Regions from separate parts of the Homo sapiens genome. Here region 1 is linked to region 2. The links are contacts of gene promoters, found by promoter capture Hi-C in blood cells and fetal thymus (Javierre and others, 2016). All regions are on one chromosome and are shown on one strand. Each heading gives the region's core, a stretch centred on a gene start or on the middle of the fragment in contact. The rest is flanking DNA. Distances are from core to core; before and after follow the strand shown.

Region 1 (5,498 bases), core at 2,485-4,984, 130 kb after region 2:
CTTCTAGCTAGGGGATGGCAGAGGCAAGGTTCAAGCCCAGGTCTGCCTTAGATCTTTCTACCACCCCAGGGGAGTCTGAGTATGATATGGGGACACAGTGTGATGGAAGATGGGAACATTCTGTGAGGACTGGATGTGGAAGGAAGGTTTTTGCTACAAGTGTGAAGCTTTAGCAGCTGTGACTAGTCAAAGATAGCCGGCCGGGCATGGTGGCTCATGCCTGTAATCCCAGCACTTTGGGAGGCCGAGGCAGGCGGATCACTTGAGATCAGGAGTTCGAGACCAGACTGGCCAATGTGGCGAAACCCCTCTCTACTAAAAATGCAAAAATTAGCTGGGCATGGTGGCGCATACCTGTAATCCCAGCTACTCAGGAGGCTGAGGGAGGAGAATCCCTTGAACCTGGGAGGCAGAGGTTGCAGTGAGCAGAGATCACACCACTGCACTCCAGCCTCAGTGACAAAGTGAGACTCGGTCTCAAAAAAAGAAAAAAAAAAGATAGCTGTCTCATTTCTCTTTACTCTCAGAGTTTGCTTCTGCCTATTTACAGATAGGACTTATAAAAACCTCAATAAATGGTGATTGAGGCAGGTAAAGAAGGCATGCAGAGTCTTGAGAGAAGCTAGGATATCCCCTCAATCTCTGATTTACAATCCCTGTGGCATTCCTTGGTTTATGGGGTTGAGCATTTGAACCTCTTCATATCTCCCCACCGGCTACAAACTCATGGGAACCTGTGTTGATCCTGGAGAGACTTCACATGGTTAGCGCCTGGCCCAGCGTCTGGCCTCAAACCTGACAGTAGTCTCGGCCATTTAGGGTAGTGTAAGCAAAGTACAGCATGGACACAGATAAGGTGAGATGGCCTTGGCCACTGAGGGCAGTGATGACCCTGGTGGATGGATAAGCTGCCTGGCCTGACCTGACCTAGGACTGCATCTCTGCTTTCCAGGGCAAAGGTCGTTGGAGCCAGCAGAAGACACGATCTCCCAAATCTCCCACCCCAGTGAAACCCACAGAACCATGTACACCCTCTAAGTCCCGAAGTGCCAGCTCAGAGGAGGCCTCAGAGTCACCTACAGCCCGGCAGATCCCCCCAGAGGCACGTCGGCTCATAGTGAACAAAAATGCTGGTGAGACCCTCCTGCAGAGGGCGGCGCGTCTTGGCTATAAGGTAAGGGAGTTTTCGACTGACCACAGGGCGCCGTTGGTCTGAGCATCTATGAAGAAGCTTTTCTCCATGGGCTCTTCTGGTGCTTGAACCCAGGCTGGCCTCCCTCTACACCCCAGATTGCCCTGGGGCTGCCTTGCCCCTCATCACTTGGATGTCAGCGTGTGAGAATGCAAACTTGCTTGAATGTCAATTTGGGATGAATGCAATTGAAATGGTATCATGCAGTATATTCCTAGACCAGGAACGCAATTTTTGGATATCCACGTTGTCTTAAATTTCTCTGTATGGTGGTTTCCCAACTCAGAAAGGAACAAGGGGTGATTTATTGCTCACTCTTCATCTCCTCCTCCAGCTTCCCCTCATTTTCGCCTCTCGCAGAGGGGCCAGGATCATGTTTGAGGGGCGAGGCTGAGCTAACCCCACCTTATACTACTACCCTATAGATTAGAAAGAAGGCAAGAAAGGAAGCTGGCATTTATTGAGCACTTCTTTTGTCATGTGAAGAGCCTGATTACTTTGTATCATTTAATCTCACAGTAAGCCGATGGAGTAGATTTATTATCCCCATTTTATAGGTGAGAAAATCGAGGCTTTGCAGTGTTACTGATATGTCTAAGATCACTCAACTACTACGCATATGAGTCTGAATTCAAACCAAGGTCTTTTGATTCCCAAGTGCCAGGGTAGGTGGAAGACTGACTCATTCACCATAATTCAGTTACACCTTGGACGTTTCCATTGTTCCCCACTTTTTATTGAGTGTGTATCTTTGCCTACCATATGGATTATTTCCTCAGGGTATGCTCCTAGCAGTGGAGTTGCTGGGTTAGTTACAGAGTGTGCCTTTGGTTTTAAGGCTTTCCATCCCTATACCTGAGTTGTTTCACACCAGCCACACTCCCAGCCAGACTGGTCAGCTCTGGGGAGCTGACGTGACAGTGTCTCACTGGCAAGCAGCCCATCTTTCATGAGCACCTAGTGTGCGTGCCTGGATAGCTGCCGAGGGAGACCTAAAACAAAAATCAAGACCAATCCCTGCCGTCAAGGTTAATTTAATTGTCTTGTACCCTGGGCAAAACCAGCCAACAGGAAACCATTGGAGGGGCCAATGGGACAGGGCTGGAGCACTAAGGCAGCCTGTCAGGGAGGGTGGAAGGAGCCCTTTTGGGCCTGGGGGAAGAGGCAGACATCTGCACTGGTGAGGAGGGTGGGAAGCCTCGGGCTTTCTCCCGGGTAAAGGAGCTTGACAGTTTCTATATACAGCCAGCAGCACCCCTGACACAGGCTGCACACACAGCCGCTCTAGCCAGCTAGCCTGTGAGCTGTCAGACAGAAAGGTGGAGTGGCCCATCTCCCCAGTGCCCCAGAGAGGACTGGCAATGGTGCAGCTATGGGATCCATTGTTTGGAAAGCCAGGCAGCCATTAATGCTGCCAGCCTCTCCCCTCCTCACCTCATTCACCCAGCTTCAGCCCATGCTAGCTAGGGTGCTTCAAGTCCCTGGTGTCCCACCTGTAGTCCTAGCATCATCTCAATCCAAGGAAGGCAGTCATTAAAGTGTGGATGAATGGCAGTATTGGATTATCCTTTTTTTTTTTTTTTGGAGATGGAGTCTTGCTCTGTCACCTAGGCTGGAGTGCAACGGTGCAATCTCGGCTCACTGCAGCCTCCACCTCCTGGGTTCAAGGGATTCTCCTGCCTCAGCCTCCTGAGTGGCTGGGATTACAGGCACCTGCCATCACACTGGGCTAATTTTTGTATTTTTAGTAGAGAGGGGGTTTTGCCATGTTGGCTAGGCTGGTCTCAAACTCCTGACCTCAGGTGATCTGCCCGCCTCAGCCTCCCAAAGTGCTGGGATTACAGGCGTGAGCCACTGCACCCAGCCTATTGGATTATCCTGATTTGAGGGGAGGGCTAGAACTGACTGTCCTGGCTTGAACATTGGTCCTGCCGAGACGTGCATCCAGGGATAGTCCTTAAAACAATTGTCTTCCTTATTCTTGAATTGCCACCAGAGGCTGTGCTCTCCACCACATCTCATTTCTCTGGTCTGGGGCTGGCTTGCCAAGCTCAGGGAGTCGAGGTCTGAGTGCTTGAGCTCTGGGCGGGCAGGTCAGCCTCTCTGAGGACCTCACCTCAAATACCACCACCCAGATGAGTGTCCTTGGCCATAAAAAAAGTCTCTCCAGGCCAGGTGCGGTGGCTCACGCCTGTAACCCTAACACTTTGGGAAGCCAAGGTGGGCAGATCACCTGAGTTCAGGAGCTGGAGACCAGCCTGGCCAACATAGTGAAATCTCATCTCTATTAAAAATACGAAAATTAGCCAGGCGTGGTGGCGTGCGCCTGTAGCTCCAGCTACTTGGGAGGCTAAGGCAGGAGAATCGCTTGAACCTGGGAGGCAGAGGCTGCAGTGAGCTGAGATTGCGCCACTGCACTCCAGCCTGGGCAACAGAGTGAGACTGTCTCAAAAAAAAAAGTCTCTCCACTGCCAAGGAAACGGCCCAGAGCTGGGGTCCTGGCAATTGTGGCTCAGGACTGATGTTGTTAATGAAAGATTTTGAAGTGTGTCCCTGCTATAAAGGGCAGGCTCTGAGACTCCTCAGATATTTGGGGAGCTTTGAGTCTCAGGGTTATATAAGTTCAAGAATTAGACCTCTCTTTGCTCATGGAGTTGTCCCTGTCCCCACAGGATGTTGTTCTCTACTGCCTCCAGAAAGACAGTGAAGATGTGAATCACCGTGACAATGCTGGCTACACAGCCCTGCATGAGGCTTGTTCCCGGGGCTGGACCGACATCCTGAACATCCTGCTGGAGCACGGGGCCAACGTGAACTGCAGTGCGCAGGACGGCACGAGGCAAGAGGGCTGCATCTCCCCCCAGTCCCGCCCTCACTCCCAGCTCAGCCTCTCACTCAAAAGACCTTGCCTGCCGCTGGCAGGCATGGTGGCTCACGCCTGTAATCCCAGCACTTTGGGAGGCCAAGGCGGGCGGATCATGAGGTCAGGAGTTCGAGACCAGCCTGGCCAACATAGTGAAACCCCATCTTTACTAAAAATACAAAAATTAGCCGGGTGTGGTGGCATGTGCCTGTAGTCCCAGCTACTAAGGAGGCTGAGGCAGGAGAATTGCTTGAACCCAGGAGGTGGAGGTTGCAGTGAGCCGCGACCATGCCATTGCACTCCAGCCTGGGTGATGGAGACTCCGTCTCAAAAAAACATAAAAAATAAAAAAATAAAGACCTTACCTCAACCTGAACCTTCGTAGCACACCAGACTGCGAGTTGCAGAGAGGCCTTGACAGGAGGAGTTTTGGAAAGACTTCTATAGGCTCAAGAGGGAACCAGTTTAGGGCAGGAGCCAATGAGTTAGTTCCCAGATGGCCAGGCCGCATCAGTTACTAAGGGGAGGCTGTGGTTGTCTAGGGATCATCCCATCATGTGTAGCTGTCACCAGGAAGACCACTCGGTCTTCCCTCAACTCATCCTGGTGGGGGACGTGTCTCAGACAGAATAGAAACTGAGAGGTTGACCTGAGGGTAATATCCAGATTTGATTTTTAAAATTTGATCTCTAGACACTGTAAGAAAAATACACCTGCTGTGTCTTAGAGAAATTGTACCCATTCTCCTCTGTTCTACCAGAGAGCCTACTTCCTGGGCAAATTAGAGACAGGAGCTGCAGATCCAGGAGGGGGCTCCGCTTGGGTTCTGCCTGGCGTGTGGAGCCCTTCTGCTCATCTCTGCTCTCAGGGAGTCACCCAGGGCCTTCAGTTCCCTGAACTGAAGTATCCCTCTACAGTTGCCCCCACCTTTTTTTTTTTTTTGAGATGGAGTCTCACTCTGTCGCCCAGGCTGGTATGCAGTGGCACAATCTTGGCTCGCTGCAACCTCTGCCTCCCGGTTTCAAGCAATTCTCCTGCCTCAGCCTTCTGAGTAGCTGGGACTATGGGTGCCCGCCATGACGCCCAGCTAATTTTTGGATTTTTAGTAGAGATGGGGCTTCACCATGTTGGCCAGGCTGGTCTCAAACTCTTGGCCTCAAGTGATCCACCTGCTTCGGCCTCCCAAAGTGCTGGGATTACAGGCGTGAGCCACCGCGCCCGGCTTCCCTGCAGCTGCCTTAACTTTATTGTAGGTCAGGGACCCATCCTCTAGTGAACTCCACAACTACCAATAGAGCTACATTGTGCCATGGGAACTGTCCCAAGATGTCAGGGGAACGTAAGAGAGAGAGAGTAATGGGAGGGAGGAAAAGGGGGTACAGAGAGAGGAGGAGTTGGGGAGATGGTAGTGGAGAGTTGCAAGGCTACAGGTGGTTCCCTTGT
Region 2 (5,662 bases), core at 2,447-4,946:
AGGGTAAACCACCATGCCAGGCCTATTATCCCCATTTTAAAGATGAGAAAACAGCCTGGGCGGGGTGACTCACGCCTGTAATCTCAGCACTTTGGGAGGCCAAGGCGGGTGGATCACTTAAGGCCAGGAATTCGATATCAGCCTGGCCAATGTGGCAAAACCCTGTCTCTACTAAAAATACAAAACAAAAACAACAACAACAACAATTAGCCAGGCGCGGTGGCGCATGCCTGTAATCCCAGCCCCTCAGGAGGCTGAGGCAGAAGAACTGCTTGAACCCGGGAGGCAGAGATTGCAGTGAGCCGAGATCGAGCCACTGCACTCCTGCGTGGGTGACAGAGCAAGACTCCGTCTCTAAATAAATAAATAAGAGGAAACAAAGGCACAGAGAGTTAAGGGACTTACTCAAAAATTATAAACTAGGTCGGGCACAGTGGCTCACGCCTATAATCCTAGCAGTTTGGGAGGCCGAAGCGGGTGGATTGCCTGAGTTCAGGAGTTCGAGACCAGCCTGGGCAACATGGTGAAACCCCGTCTCTATTAAGATACAAAAAATTAGCTGGGTGTGGTGGCGTATGCCTGTAGTCCCAGCTACTTGGGAAGCTGAGGCAGGAGAATTGCTTGAACCCGGGAGGTGGAGGTTGCAGTGGGCCAAGATCACGCCACTGCACTCCAGCCTGGGTGACAGAGCGAGACTCCGTCTCCCCCAACCCCCCCAAAAAATTATAAAACTAGTAAGTGACAGAGCTAAGATTCAATCCCAGAGTCCAGCTTTAAAACTCAGGTTCTTCATCATGAAATGTATTTATTCGTTCATTCTTCATATTTCATGAGTATGAAAATGCTATAATGCTCCCCCTTTCTATAAGATTACTGCAATACCACAGGCTTCAAATTGCAAAGGTCTGAACTAATACAATGGCAAACATGATGGAGAAAGGTAAGGAGATATTTGAAAGAGACTCAGGGAAGTAAAACTGATAATGTGGGCAAACAGCTGTGGAGCATAAGGGGGAGGGGAATCTAAGATGACTCTCAGACTTCTGATTTTACTAACTGGGTAGTTGATGGGCCAATCATACAAATGGGAAATTCAGGAAAGGAACTCTGGTGGAAAAGATAGAAATTATTGGTCATTTTATGTTTGATGTGCTTGTGGGGCAAAAAGAATAGCCAGGAGGCAATCAGATATACCAGTCTGGAGCTCAAGAAAGAGATTAGGGCTAGAGATATAAATTTTGTTCTCATACAGCTGTTAAAGGCAATTTCACTTAGGAAGAGTATCTGTAATAAATAAAGAGGGCTTAGAGCAGAATTCTCGGAAACATCATCATTTAGGGAGTAAGCATATTAAAAGTATATTAAAAGCATCCAGCAGAGAAGACTGAGGAAGATGGTCATAGGGCTGATACCAGGAGAGAATGGTGTCATGAAATCTCAGGATGGAGTTTCAACAATGACAAAATTGTCTTTAATCCCACTAGAAAGTAAGCTCTAGGAAGCAATGGGACATATCTGCTTTGTTCACCAATGTATTCCCAATGCCTAGAGGCTTGGCACATACTAGATGGCCAAAAATATTTCATGAATAAGAAAACAAATCGGCTGGGTGCGGTGGCTCACGCCCATAATCCCAGCACTTTGGGAGGCCATGGTGGGAGGATCACCTGAGGCCAGGAGTTCGAGACCAGCCTGGCCAACATGGCGAAACTCCATCTCTGCTAAAAATACAAAAATTAGGCTGGGCGCGGTGGCTCACGCCTGTAATCCCAGCACTTTGGGAGGCCGAGGAGGGCGGATCACGAGGTCAGGAGATCGAGACCATCCTGGCTAACACGGTGAAACCCCATCTCTACTAAAAATACAAAAAATTAGCCGGGCATGGTGGCATGTGCCTGTAGTCCAGCTACTCGGGAGGCTGAGGCAGGAGAATCACTTGAAACAGGGAGGCAGAGGTTGCAGTGAGCTGAGATTGTGCCACTGCACTCCAGCCTGGGTGACAGAGCGAGACTCCGTCTCAAAAAAAAAAAAAAAACAAAAATTAGCCAGGCGTGGTGGCGCATGCCTGTAATCCCAGCTACACGGGAGGCTGAGGCAGGAGAATCACTTGAACCCAGGAGGCGGAGGTTACAGTGAGCCAAGATCGCGCCACTGCACTCCAGCCTTGGCAACAAGAGCGAAACTCCGTCTCAAAAAAAAGAAAAGAAAAGAAAAGAAAAGAAAAGAAAAGAAATCAACAGTTACTAAATGCCACACAAAGTTCTGGGAAGCCAAAGACTGAGAGGTATCCGTTTTATTTAGCAACTTTGGGTGTCGCTGATCTTGTCCAGAGCAATTTCTGTGGAATAATGGGGCAAAAGCAAAATGGGAATGGATTACAAGAATGAAAAGAACGGGCCGGGCGCCGTGGCTCACGCCTGTAATCCTAGCACTTTGGGAGGCCGAGACGGGTGGATCATGAGGTCACGAGATCGAGACCATCCTGGCTAACACGGTGAAACCCCGTCTCTACTTAAAAAAAAAAAAAAAATTAGCCGGGTGTGGTGGCAGGCGCCTGTAGTCCCAGCTACTCAGGAAGCTGAGGCAGGTGAATGGTGTGAACCCGGGAGGCGGAGCTTGCAGTGAGCTGAGATCGCACCACTGCATTCCAGCGTGGGCGACGGAGTGAGACTCCGTCTCAAAAAAAAAAAATGAAAAGAATGTTCTTGTCTATTATTTTTCTACAATCATTAATTAATATATATATATATTAGGCCGGGCCCGGTGGCTCACACCTGTAATCTCAGCACTTTGGGAGGCCGAGGCGGGCAGATCACTTGAGGCCAGGAATTCTAGACCAGCCTGGCCAACGTGGCAAAACCCCGTCTCTACTAAAAATGCAAATATTAGCCGAGCATGGTGGCGGGTGCCTGTAATCCTAGCGACTCGGGAGGCTGAGGCAGGAGAATCGCTTGAACCCGGGAGGTGGAGGTTGCAGTGAGCTGAGATCACGCCATTGCACTCCAGCCTGAACGACACAGCAAGGCTCTGTCTCAAAAATAAATAAATAAAATTCTTAAAAGTTGATGGGAGAAAAAAAGTTGTTTAAAAAAATTTTTTTAAGTTGATGGGAGGTGAGGAAGCGTAGTTACTGATGGCCCCTTCTTGGATAAAAAAAATCTTTTGACTCAGGAAATGAAGAACAAAGCTGCAATTACAAGGGATCAAAGGCGATTTTTCCTTAAATGGAAGGAAACTTGTTATGTTCACCATCGGATCTCCGGGGCCCGGCACAATCTGGCCACTTAATAGGCATTCAATAAACCCCCGAGCTGGCTTGTGGTCGGCTTGCAGGACGCCGTCGCACAAGGACGGGCGCTGTAGTCTTTCCTTCTGGATTCTGCAGTGACGAATGAAGGCGCGGGCTCAGCCCCTGAGAGCGCAGCACCGTCGCCCTAAGCTAACCCACCTTGGGCCACGTGGAAACCAGGGGCCAGGAGGACAGACACCCGCGCGCCAGAGAAATACGGGGTGGGTGGAGAAAGGAATGCCCCACCCGCTGACAGCCGTTTCATCTCAGGCCTCCCAGTTTTCTGCAGGCCCCTCCCTACACGGCTCCTGCTTCTCTCACGCCTCGTACGGAACGGAAGTGACGTGTACGTCGCGAGCGATTGACGGAAACAGAAATTGCTTTGCGGCCCGCACGGAAATTGCTTTCCTTCGGCTTCCGTTCTTGGTCCATGTGAGAGAAGCTGGCTGCTGAAATGACTGCGAACCGGCTTGCAGAGAGGTGAAGGGCAACGAGGGGAGGGGGGATTCTGGGTCTCGTTGGGGGCCGGGTTCCCCAGCTTTTGGGAAATGGGAGCCCCCCCTTTAACAGATGGCAGTGGTTCCCCTGAAGAGCTGGCCATTCGTTCCTATTTTCCGCGATCCAGCCTTTAAAGCCCTTTTAATTTAATTTCATTCGCTTACTCCGCTCCTCAGCTGTATAGCCGCATCCCTGTTGGTCCTGATGCTGTTTCTGCCTCCCCAGCTCATTTACTGTGTTTCACATTTTTCGTCACGTGGCCCCTTTTTCTGCCTCTGTCGCGGCCCGATTTAATCCTCTGCGCAGGCAGTGCAGGCGTTATAAACTCCCCGAATCTTGGAAAGCTTTGCTGATTGGAGTCATCCACCACGTTTTGGCTCCTGTGATGTTTTGTGCCCCCCCCACCCCGCCCCCGGAACTAAATGTAGTCCGTTTAGTAATGTTGGCTTTGCAAATACTAATAATATATGCTGTTAGGTAATGGTACATTTTATAATTTGTTTGTGGGTACCAATCTCCTTAGTTAAGCACCTACTTTACTAAGCAAGCCCCAGGGAAAGTGGCTTACCCAGCTGCTTTCGACCTGTTTCTCCATTCCTGGGAACAAGGATCAAGATAACACTTTTGATTAGGCTGCCTATCAATGAGTCAAATATATGGAGGATGCTTAGAAATATTAATCGTGAAACTGCCTTGCCTCCAGGGCTAGCTAGCAACAGCGTCTTTGGCCATATTATTCTAGGGTCTGACATTTTTACAGCTTCCCATAGGTCATAGGAAATGTTGTGCCAATCCCTGAAAAGTGATAGCTCTTTTACATGCAGTTTTGAAGTCAGGCATCACTCTTGGAGGTGATGCCTGACTTCAGTCTAAATTTCACATCTTGACAAGTTTCCAAAGGCATTCACGCTGCTTTATATATCTTCTGAGGGATAGGGCTATTCTGTGCTGAAATTACAATGTTTTCGAGATTGTTTTAATAGATTAGACATTGCTTCAAATAATAATATTTCTTTTTTTAATTTCGACTTTTATTATAATTAAGGGATACATATGCAGGTTTGTTACATGGGTATATTGCATTCACATTTCTCTGTTGCCTCTTTTAACAGCCTTCTGGCTTTGAGCCAACAGGAAGAACTAGCGGATTTGCCAAAAGACTACCTCTTGAGTGAGAGTGAAGATGAGGTGGGTGACAATTGCTAAACTGCCTTCAAAATTAGGGTAGAGAGCACATTCCTGGAATGGAAGGGTGTGACAATGTTCTATGTATTTGTTCAGGTCTCTCAAATAAATTGCAAATGGTTAGTGTTTCATATATAAGATACTGTATCATATTAAGTGCTATGAGGATTTGGAAACTAAGTTACAATCACTACCCTCAAGTTGCATAAGTATAATTTATAAGACCAACCAAAACAGGCCCGGGTGATGGCTCATGCCTGTAATCCCAGCACTTTGGGAGGCCAAGGCGGGCAGATCACAAGGTCAGGAGATTGAGACCATCCTGGCTAACACAGTGAAACCCCGTCTCTACTAAAAATACAAAAAATTAGCCAGGCGTGGTGGCAGGCGCCTGTAGTCCCAGCTACTTGGGAGGCTGAGGCAGGAGAATGGCATGAACCTGGGAGGCGGAGCTTGCAGTGAGCCAAGATAACACCACTGCACTCCATCCTGGGCAACAGAGCGAGACGCCGTCTCAAAAATAAATAAATAAATAACAAGAGATTTTACATGAGACTCAATTTCCATGTTGTCTTTTCCCTCCCCCTCATCCTGATTGTTTTTCCTTTTCTGTGTCTTAGGGGGACAATGATGGAGAGAGAAAGCATCAAAAGCTTCTGGAAGCAATCAGTTCCCTTGATGGAAAGAATA

Evidence for each region. The method cuts DNA at HindIII sites, captures the fragments that hold promoters and counts their contacts. A CHiCAGO score of 5 or more calls a contact.
Region 1: a fragment that was not itself captured here is called in contact with the fragment with the promoter of UTP14A in region 2 in 13 of 17 cell types (neutrophils, naive CD8 T cells, non-activated CD4 T cells and 10 more); the score reaches 11.2 in neutrophils.

Annotation. Positions count from the first base shown.
Region 1 is chrX:130,033,503-130,039,000 of GRCh38, forward strand. BCORL1 (BCL6 corepressor like 1) reads left to right here. Exons shown (of 14, transcript NM_001379451.1): 9 at 953-1,174; 10 at 3,865-4,031. Among named protein-coding and RNA genes, the nearest start is that of BCORL1, 54 kb to the left of the region's middle. The HindIII fragment of the contact is 5,010 bases long and covers 1,230-5,498 here.
Region 2 is chrX:129,902,468-129,908,129 of GRCh38, forward strand. It overlaps UTP14A (UTP14A small subunit processome component), which reads left to right and starts at 3,697. Exons shown (of 15, transcript NM_006649.4): 1 at 3,697-3,769; 2 at 4,900-4,975; 3 at 5,593-5,662. The coding sequence starts at 3,744. LOC105373335 (a long non-coding RNA gene) reads right to left here. Exons shown (of 3, transcript NR_188631.1): 3 at 4,797-5,662. The HindIII fragment of the contact is 20,573 bases long and covers 1-4,129 here.